2 separate regions of the Homo sapiens genome follow, and region 2 is linked to region 1. Evidence: promoter capture Hi-C in 16 types of primary human blood cells and fetal thymus (Javierre and others, 2016). All regions are on one chromosome and are shown on one strand. The core of a region is centred on a gene start or on the middle of the fragment in contact, and the rest is flanking DNA. Distances in the headings are between cores, read along the strand shown. Region 1 holds the start of TWF1 (twinfilin actin binding protein 1). Region 2 overlaps SCAF11 (SR-related CTD associated factor 11).

Region 1 (3,622 bases), core at 570-3,069:
TTTCAATAGATATTTTCAGAAGTCTGTACTTTCCATTTCTGGCTCTGGCAAAGATCTCTTTAACATCTTCACTTGCTGTGGAAAAAGATAAAGAAAGTAAACTTTTTATACTTACATATAAATACTTTCCTATCTATATTGGAAAAGTTAATTAGAATACAAAGAAAAAATCTGGAGCATGTAGCATCCTTATTATCAGTATTATAAAACTTTACCGCATAAAATAACGAAGACTGTATACAATTAAGAAATATAAATATTAGCATTTTAAAAGTATGTTAATAATTCTAATCTGTTTTAGCTACATAATTCTGTGCAGAAATAACACTGGGGTGAATATACTGAAGTTACTCAAACCCAATAATGAGCAAATTACAATTTTGAAAAACTTTTCTTGCTCTTTTGAAAAATATTGAAAACCTGCTTTCATTCTCTAATTCAGTTTCAAGCTTATGACAGACACTCCTTCATCAATTCACTTTCTGTATTTTCCCGTTAAAAACAACAGTATATATCAAATATCCTAACTTGTTTAAAGAAAAAGACAATAAAATGCATTCAGTCTTAACTCTGGTTATATTTTTCTAACTTGCATTTCTCAAAAGCTAGATTAAACTCATTGAATAAATATGTATTTAATAACTAACCCTTGTGTTCCTATTAAAGCTTCAATTTCGTTCTAATTTCGTTCCTGTGTTGTCTATTAGCAGCAAGAACCACTATGTAAGTAGGTAGTGCTTGCTATAAGGCTCAAGCATGAGAGTCAATAACTACATATTTATATATCGAAATTAATGCGGATAAATAAAACAAAGTTTTCAGATTTGAGACTATTTTGCTTCTGCGTGCGTGCAGGGGGATGTGTGCGGTGGTGTCAAAAATCTTTACGAATAAAACATACAATTAAGTGTTCATCTGGGAGAAAGACTCGCTATTAACAGTAAGAGCTTGAGTTTACACTAGAACTCGTTAAGTGATCGCGAGTAACCCGGGGATATATTATTTGACTCTTGATGAGGTGAGTACCTGCAGGCTGCCCAATTTCAAACCAGGAAATAATGGAGGTCAGATATAACTGCATATTGAACTGTCTGCACGCATTACATGCAACCATACAGATCAGTTTCCCTTGGGGAGTATCTAGGAAAAAGATCAAAACACACGCTTACACTCGAGATTTCTCAGAACATAACTCTCATTTTCCTATTTGGAGAGAAAATGCGGGAGAGTTTTGGGAAGCACCCCTACTGATGTGAGAAAGATTCTGGCATGGTTCTTTTTGTAATCAAAGTCCTGTAATATTCTCCTTTGGACCATGAAAAAGAAAACTCGCCTGGTTCTCGACAGCGTACTGAAGCCCCAGTCGCCTCCACTGTCCCAGCTCTTCCCTACGTGACCAAAAGGGGGAAAGTTGGGCGACTGTCGGGGACGGTGGAAGGCACGCCCCCTTCAACCAGGCCGCCTCGAAAGCCAATTTCCTTCGCTCCCCCGAATTTCGGATCAATCTGCAACGTGACGGCAGCAGGGACCGGGCTGGAGGAGGACGCAGGCCGGCAGCGCCCGGGAAGCAGGAGCGCGGAGAGGCGCCGAGGCCCGGCTCGCCCCGCGAGACCGACTTCCGGAGCTCCCGGCCCGACTCCAGCCCTGCCGGTCCTGCAGCCCTCCCGGCTCTCCCGGCTCTCCCGGAAGCCCCTTCCCTGCGAGTCGCGCCGGGCGCTGTTACCTTGGATGCCGGTCTGGTGGGACATGGCGGCGGCCGCTAGCTCCCGGCTCCGGCGCTGAGTGCAGCCAGCGGCCCCGGCCGGCGGCCCCAGGAAGTGGCTGCTCCTCCGCCGGCCCCGGCGCGTCATCCGCCCGCGACCCGCGGCCGCCCCGCCCCGTGAGGTTGACTGAGTGCCCGAGCGTCCCCGCCGCCCCGCCGCCCTTCCTGGCCGCCGGGCTGCGGTCCAGCCCCCGGCCTCGCTATCCTAGTTCTCTGCTTGGGGTCCTGCTTCTGCTCTTGCCGCCGCCTCTCCCGCTTCTTCCGGGGGGGACATGCCGCAGAATCTAGACTGCTCAGTGCTCCGACGTCTGCTCTCTGACAACCCCGCCGACGCCGCCATTCGCTGCCTCAGCAAAGGGGTGCTCAAAAACGGAAGTGATCATTTTACCAAATAGGCATTTTCCAGCTTAAAAAAGATGTGCACATTATTTTTCTTGGTTTACTCTTCCTATAATCGATACCGTTTAGTGTAGAAAAGCCTTCTCCTTGCTCCATTGTTTTGAAAGAATTAATATAGACTGCCTCTCATCAAATTTTTCCACGATTTTAAATTAAGTTAATCTCAGACTGTTAACTTTTCTTTTCAGCTGGACACATTTAGAGACTCAGTGTATCTTTCTCTTCACTCCGGAAAGAGACAGCCACTAAGAGATTAGCTGATTTGAGTATCCCTCTGTGGTCGATTATACCATTGCAAATCCTGCTCTGCTTTAGGTTGGCAGTTTATTATTTAATCCAGTAATTATTCAAAATTCACTTGGACAGATTTGTAAGGTAGCAGCAGATATTACTTAAAAATCTTTTCCTTTCCTGCTTTTACAAACATGTAGTTCCTTCCTGAAAGGTAATGTTAGTTTTGTGGGGGGTTTGGTTTTTTTTTGGTACTGCTTCTCTACTGCTACTAGGTGGGAAGCTAGTTCTTATTTTTAGGGCCTTGAAGTGACACATACACAAAATTATAATCTGCTAATGAAGAAATAATTTATTCAGGTCAATAATATAAGTGCAAGTTAATCACTGTTCCAGTACTATACGATGTATTTTTCATGAGTGATGAACAGGCCTGCAATTGTTTTTCTTTACAAGAATCACAGCAAACAAGGTTATGTTCTATTGCCTGTTATCTGAGCTCTGTTTTTCAGACATATTCTCATATTCAGGAATAAACTAAATCTGAGTTTTATGACTTGTATGGATTTAAGAAATGTAGGGAGGAGTTTCATTCTAATCAAATTCTTCCTGACACAATGGTTCACCCTGATTTACCAGTTTTTGACTACATTGCTGAGCAGAGAGAAAATTGCAGAGTTGACTTGCAGTATTTTGACTGATTCATGTCCTAGTGCTTCGGGGAAATTGCTTAAGGAAGTTGGCGTTGCTCAAAAGTATAGTTGAGCAAAATATAATCCTTCCATATTCGTGCTTGGGAAAGGCCACTGTATTCTCAGTCCTGAAGAAGAGGAATGTCTAGTTAGGTTGGGACCACCCTGACAGCCACCAGAAAGTGCTTATTTACTGCCAGTACAATAGTTTGACTTAAAAGCTGCAAGCGTCTTGGGTACCTTGCTCTGCTCTAGCCACAAATATTTTCCCACTTTTCTTCATCTATTGTGTCTCCATTTAGTGAACATTTGCCAGAGCTGTCATGAGAATAATACCTTAGATTTGTATGGTAGTTTACAGTTTACAAATAATATATAATAGACTTATTTTGAGTACCAACATCCTGTGTGACGAGCTGAAAAAAATAGCAGGTTTTGTTTTTTAACTTTAAGAGGTTTGGAAATTGAACCACAGAGTTGGGAAGTCAGCAGGTTTCAAGGCTAAGACAAGTGTCTGTAAGAAACAAACCATTTGAAA
Region 2 (3,619 bases), core at 159-2,658, 2.2 Mb after region 1:
AACATTTTTAACAATAAGATAGTTATACTGCTTGATATGGTTTGGCTGTGTCCCCACCCAAATCTCTCTTGAATTGTATTCCCATAATTCCCACGTGTTGTGGGAGCAACCTGTTGGGAGATAATTTGAATCATGGGGGCAGTTTCCCCCATACTGTTCTCATGGTAGTGAACAAGTCTCACAAGATCTGATGGTTTTAACAGATGTTTCCGCTTTTGCATCTTCCTCATTTTCTCTTGCCACCAACCACTATGTAAGAAGTGCCCTTCTCCTCCCACCAAGATTCTGAGGCCTCCCTAGCCATGTGGAACTGTAAGTCCAATTATACCTCTTTTTCTTCCCAGTCTCAGGTATGTCAGCAGCATGAAATCAGGCTAATGCACTGCTCTACTCTTAGCTGAGGCATTCTTAGCTCCTTCTATATTAAGACAAATGATAGTTTCAAGGTCACATACTGTTATACTCCTCTAAAAACACAGACCCCTTAGGCTGGGTGTGGTGGTTCATTCCTGTAATCCCAGCACTTTGGGAGGCCAAGGCGGGATGATTACTTAGCCCAGGAATTTGAGACCAGCCTGGGCACCAAAGTGAGAGCTGTGATCACACCACTGCGCTCCAGCCTGGGAGACAGCGAGATGCTATCTGAAAGCAAAAACAAAACAAACAACAACAAAAAACAAGGACCCCTGAAATGAACATGGCCCACATGCATGGATATAAGTAACTTGGCAGTTTATGCTACAGACTGAGACTTGCTTAGTCTAAAGTTTCAAACCACAATCACTATTTGTAACGTTTACAGCTGAAAGCAGGTTAATTCATTAACTTACACTGAAGGCATTGTTCAGGTGTTTAGGTGACAAATACTGACAAATGCTGATCTCACAGAAGATAAATCACAGTGAAGAAAATAAACAATAAACCTAAGTTAGATTACACAATATGTTGCAAAATGATAAATGCAATGGAGAAAAATCTAGCATAAAAACAGATACAAAATATCGGGGGAAGGCTGTTGTTTTATACACAGTAGTTAGAGAAGACCACAACAGCGTAGGGGAAAGGAGATTGGAGAAAGGGTGAGGAGATGAAGTCAGAGAGGAAGAAGAGACTTAAATCATAGAGCCTTGTAGACCATAGGAGTATGGAATTTACTATGACTGAGAAGGGAAGCCATTTGAGAAAAGAAGTTACATGACCTGACATTTTATCAGGATCACTCTGGCTATGGAGTGTTAAAGACTGTAGATCAGCAAAGGTCACAGTGACTTTTTAGGAAGATATTTTTGAAAGCAAAATAGTGGTTGTGTTTTTACGTTATGTATTGAATTTTTATGTGTCTATGTACTAGGATTTCATACATTAAGTTCATAGACACAACTTAAAAAAATACAATGCAAAGATGAGTTTTGGGAATAGCAAGAGAATGATACTGGATATTTTAACTCTGGGCTCTACTCAGCACTACTAACAGTTATTACTGCTCAGAAGCAAGACAAGGTGCAAGGTTATTAACTTATTTTGGGGGACAGAGTATAATTAAAAATCTGGATTTTAAGTTTATTTCACTGGGCAAGGTAAGTCAAGGTACAATTTACATCTTAAAAGACAAAAGCAGGTGATAGCAGGGCTTGCTAAAGGGAAGTTACAATGAAAATTATTCTACAGTTGACTTTCTTTTTATTACTTTTATGCCTGCTACTCTCTTTAATTAAGGTGCTACAACTATCTCTGATATACTTTAAAAGTTCAGTATTAAGTTGATGGGTAGTATAGTACTGTATTTTCTGATTACTAAAAGATGTTACTGATGATGAATCAACAGTATCATGTAACTGCACTGATTCATCCTATCTCTGCTGAATAAAAGCACAGGTTTTCCAGAAAACTGTCTAAGCTCTAGTTGGTGCCAAAGGACGATAGAGAGCTAAGTAACTCCTGAAAAGTTTCGATCTTAACACACTAGCCCTATTACCACATGAAGGTATTAACAGAAAAAATTAAAAAATTATCCGTAAAATTTTCTCCATGACATGTTTTCTGGCAACATATTTAGAAACTTTAAATTTTCTTCTACAGTTTTCTTCCCCTTTATACTGAAGAATGTCTTTAAAGCATGAGTATACTTACAGTAAGCAAACATTCAAATTTTACCCCAGTGAAATCTTAAAATGTACTCAAACTCTCAGGCAAAAAGTTCACTATCTGAATGTGAAAAACTGAATGACTGTTAAAATATCTGCAAGCACCAAAAAATATTATAGCTAAAATGCAGCTACCCTAAGAACTGTTTTTAAAAAACTCACATTGCATAAAAAATATAAATTCAGATTATCCGATAGGATAATATAAAACAAAAGAAATCCAAAGACAGTTTCAAGATTTCATTTCTCTTGCTTAGTTAAAACAACAAAAACAAAAGGCCCATGAACTTTTTCTTGCATCTTTTAACCAAAATAGTGACATGATCAAGCCAACTGCCAAAGAAACAGGAAAGAGAAAGCAATTGTTTAGAAACAGACTTGATTACATGTCAAAATTTTAATACAATTACTAATAAAATACAAAAACCAACCGTTATTTTAAAATGTACTGCCCTGATATTCTGCTGCTGAGGTAGGTGGTGATATGTAGAAATTAATTTTTCTTTTAAAACGAAAAAATAATGCATTTATTAATATGCTTTTCCCAAAATTCGGGGAAAATTCCCAAATCGGAGAAAAAAATTTAACATCAGCATCTACTACACAAAGCATTAAAAACATTTTTCAGCAGTTTTGCTTAAGTATCTTAGGTCAGTGGTAGCATGTTAGCCAAAATGTAATCCAAAATGAATGAACAACAGTCAGCTGGTAGACACTGTATGTAATACAATACGGAAATATATTGGAAGTATTTCAAAATTCAACATTTGAATCCGTGAATGTCTAAATCAAGTACTCTAAATCAGGCGTCTACTTTTGAAACAATACTTCAAAATACGTGTTGGTGGCAAGACCGCCAGCCATCTGTAGGAAATCTTTTTAATGGTTCAAAATTCCTAGGTCTCAGAAGGGGCGACTGATTAGGCTAAATTTATATCTCCCGGCCCCGTAGTTGTCAGCCCAGGTAGCGAATTTAAAACACTGGGGGTGGATGAGTAGTTTGAAGTTCAGATCAAGGAGTGAAAAAGGCTGATGCTTAGAAGCGCCGGCTCTTCCCCATTCGCGCACTCGAGAGGTCACGGCGTAGTAAAGTTTGGTTTCACTAGCGGGCTTGGACGCTCGCGACCAAAGTCTCCCAAGAAAAGCCGACACCGCGGTCGGGAGCGCCCGGAAGCTCAGCAGGACACGTTTCCACTGCAGGGAGGAGGGTGTCTGTGGCGGTTCTGGCGTGGAGCCCCTTCCCCCCCCCCCGTAGGACCCTGCACCCGGACGGGGACAGGCTTCGCCAGCTAAGGCGGCGGGAGACGCGTAGGCCACAAGGAGGAAATGGGACAGAGTGCGACAGAGAGGCGGCGGCGGCCCAGGGCCGGGCCGAGCCTCCCTCGCGGGGCAGCGAGAGGGAAAGGGGCCCTCCCGGCCGCAGCCTCCCCCACTTCGAGAGGTAGCTCCAACTTTCCTCCCAGCGCACGACGTCG

What was found. The method cuts DNA at HindIII sites, captures the fragments that hold promoters and counts their contacts. A CHiCAGO score of 5 or more calls a contact.
Region 2: a contact is called between a fragment that was not itself captured here and the fragment with the promoter of TWF1 in region 1, in 1 of 17 cell types (monocytes). The highest score is 7.5, in monocytes.

The regions. Positions count from the first base shown.
Region 1 is chr12:43,804,498-43,808,119 of GRCh38, forward strand. TWF1 (twinfilin actin binding protein 1) reads right to left here and starts at 1,820. Exons shown (of 9, transcript NM_002822.5): 1 at 1,724-1,820; 2 at 1-75. The coding sequence starts at 1,748. It also overlaps a transcript of TMEM117 not described here. RefSeq lists a silencer at 1,516-1,995. The HindIII fragment of the contact is 5,668 bases long and covers 665-3,622 here.
Region 2 is chr12:45,986,592-45,990,210 of GRCh38, forward strand. All of the region lies in intron 1 of SCAF11 (SR-related CTD associated factor 11), which reads right to left. Among named protein-coding and RNA genes, the nearest start is that of SCAF11, 2.2 kb to the right of the region's middle. RefSeq lists silencers at 112-161, 3,057-3,126, 3,527-3,619 and an enhancer at 3,277-3,326. The HindIII fragment of the contact is 7,512 bases long and covers 1-3,619 here.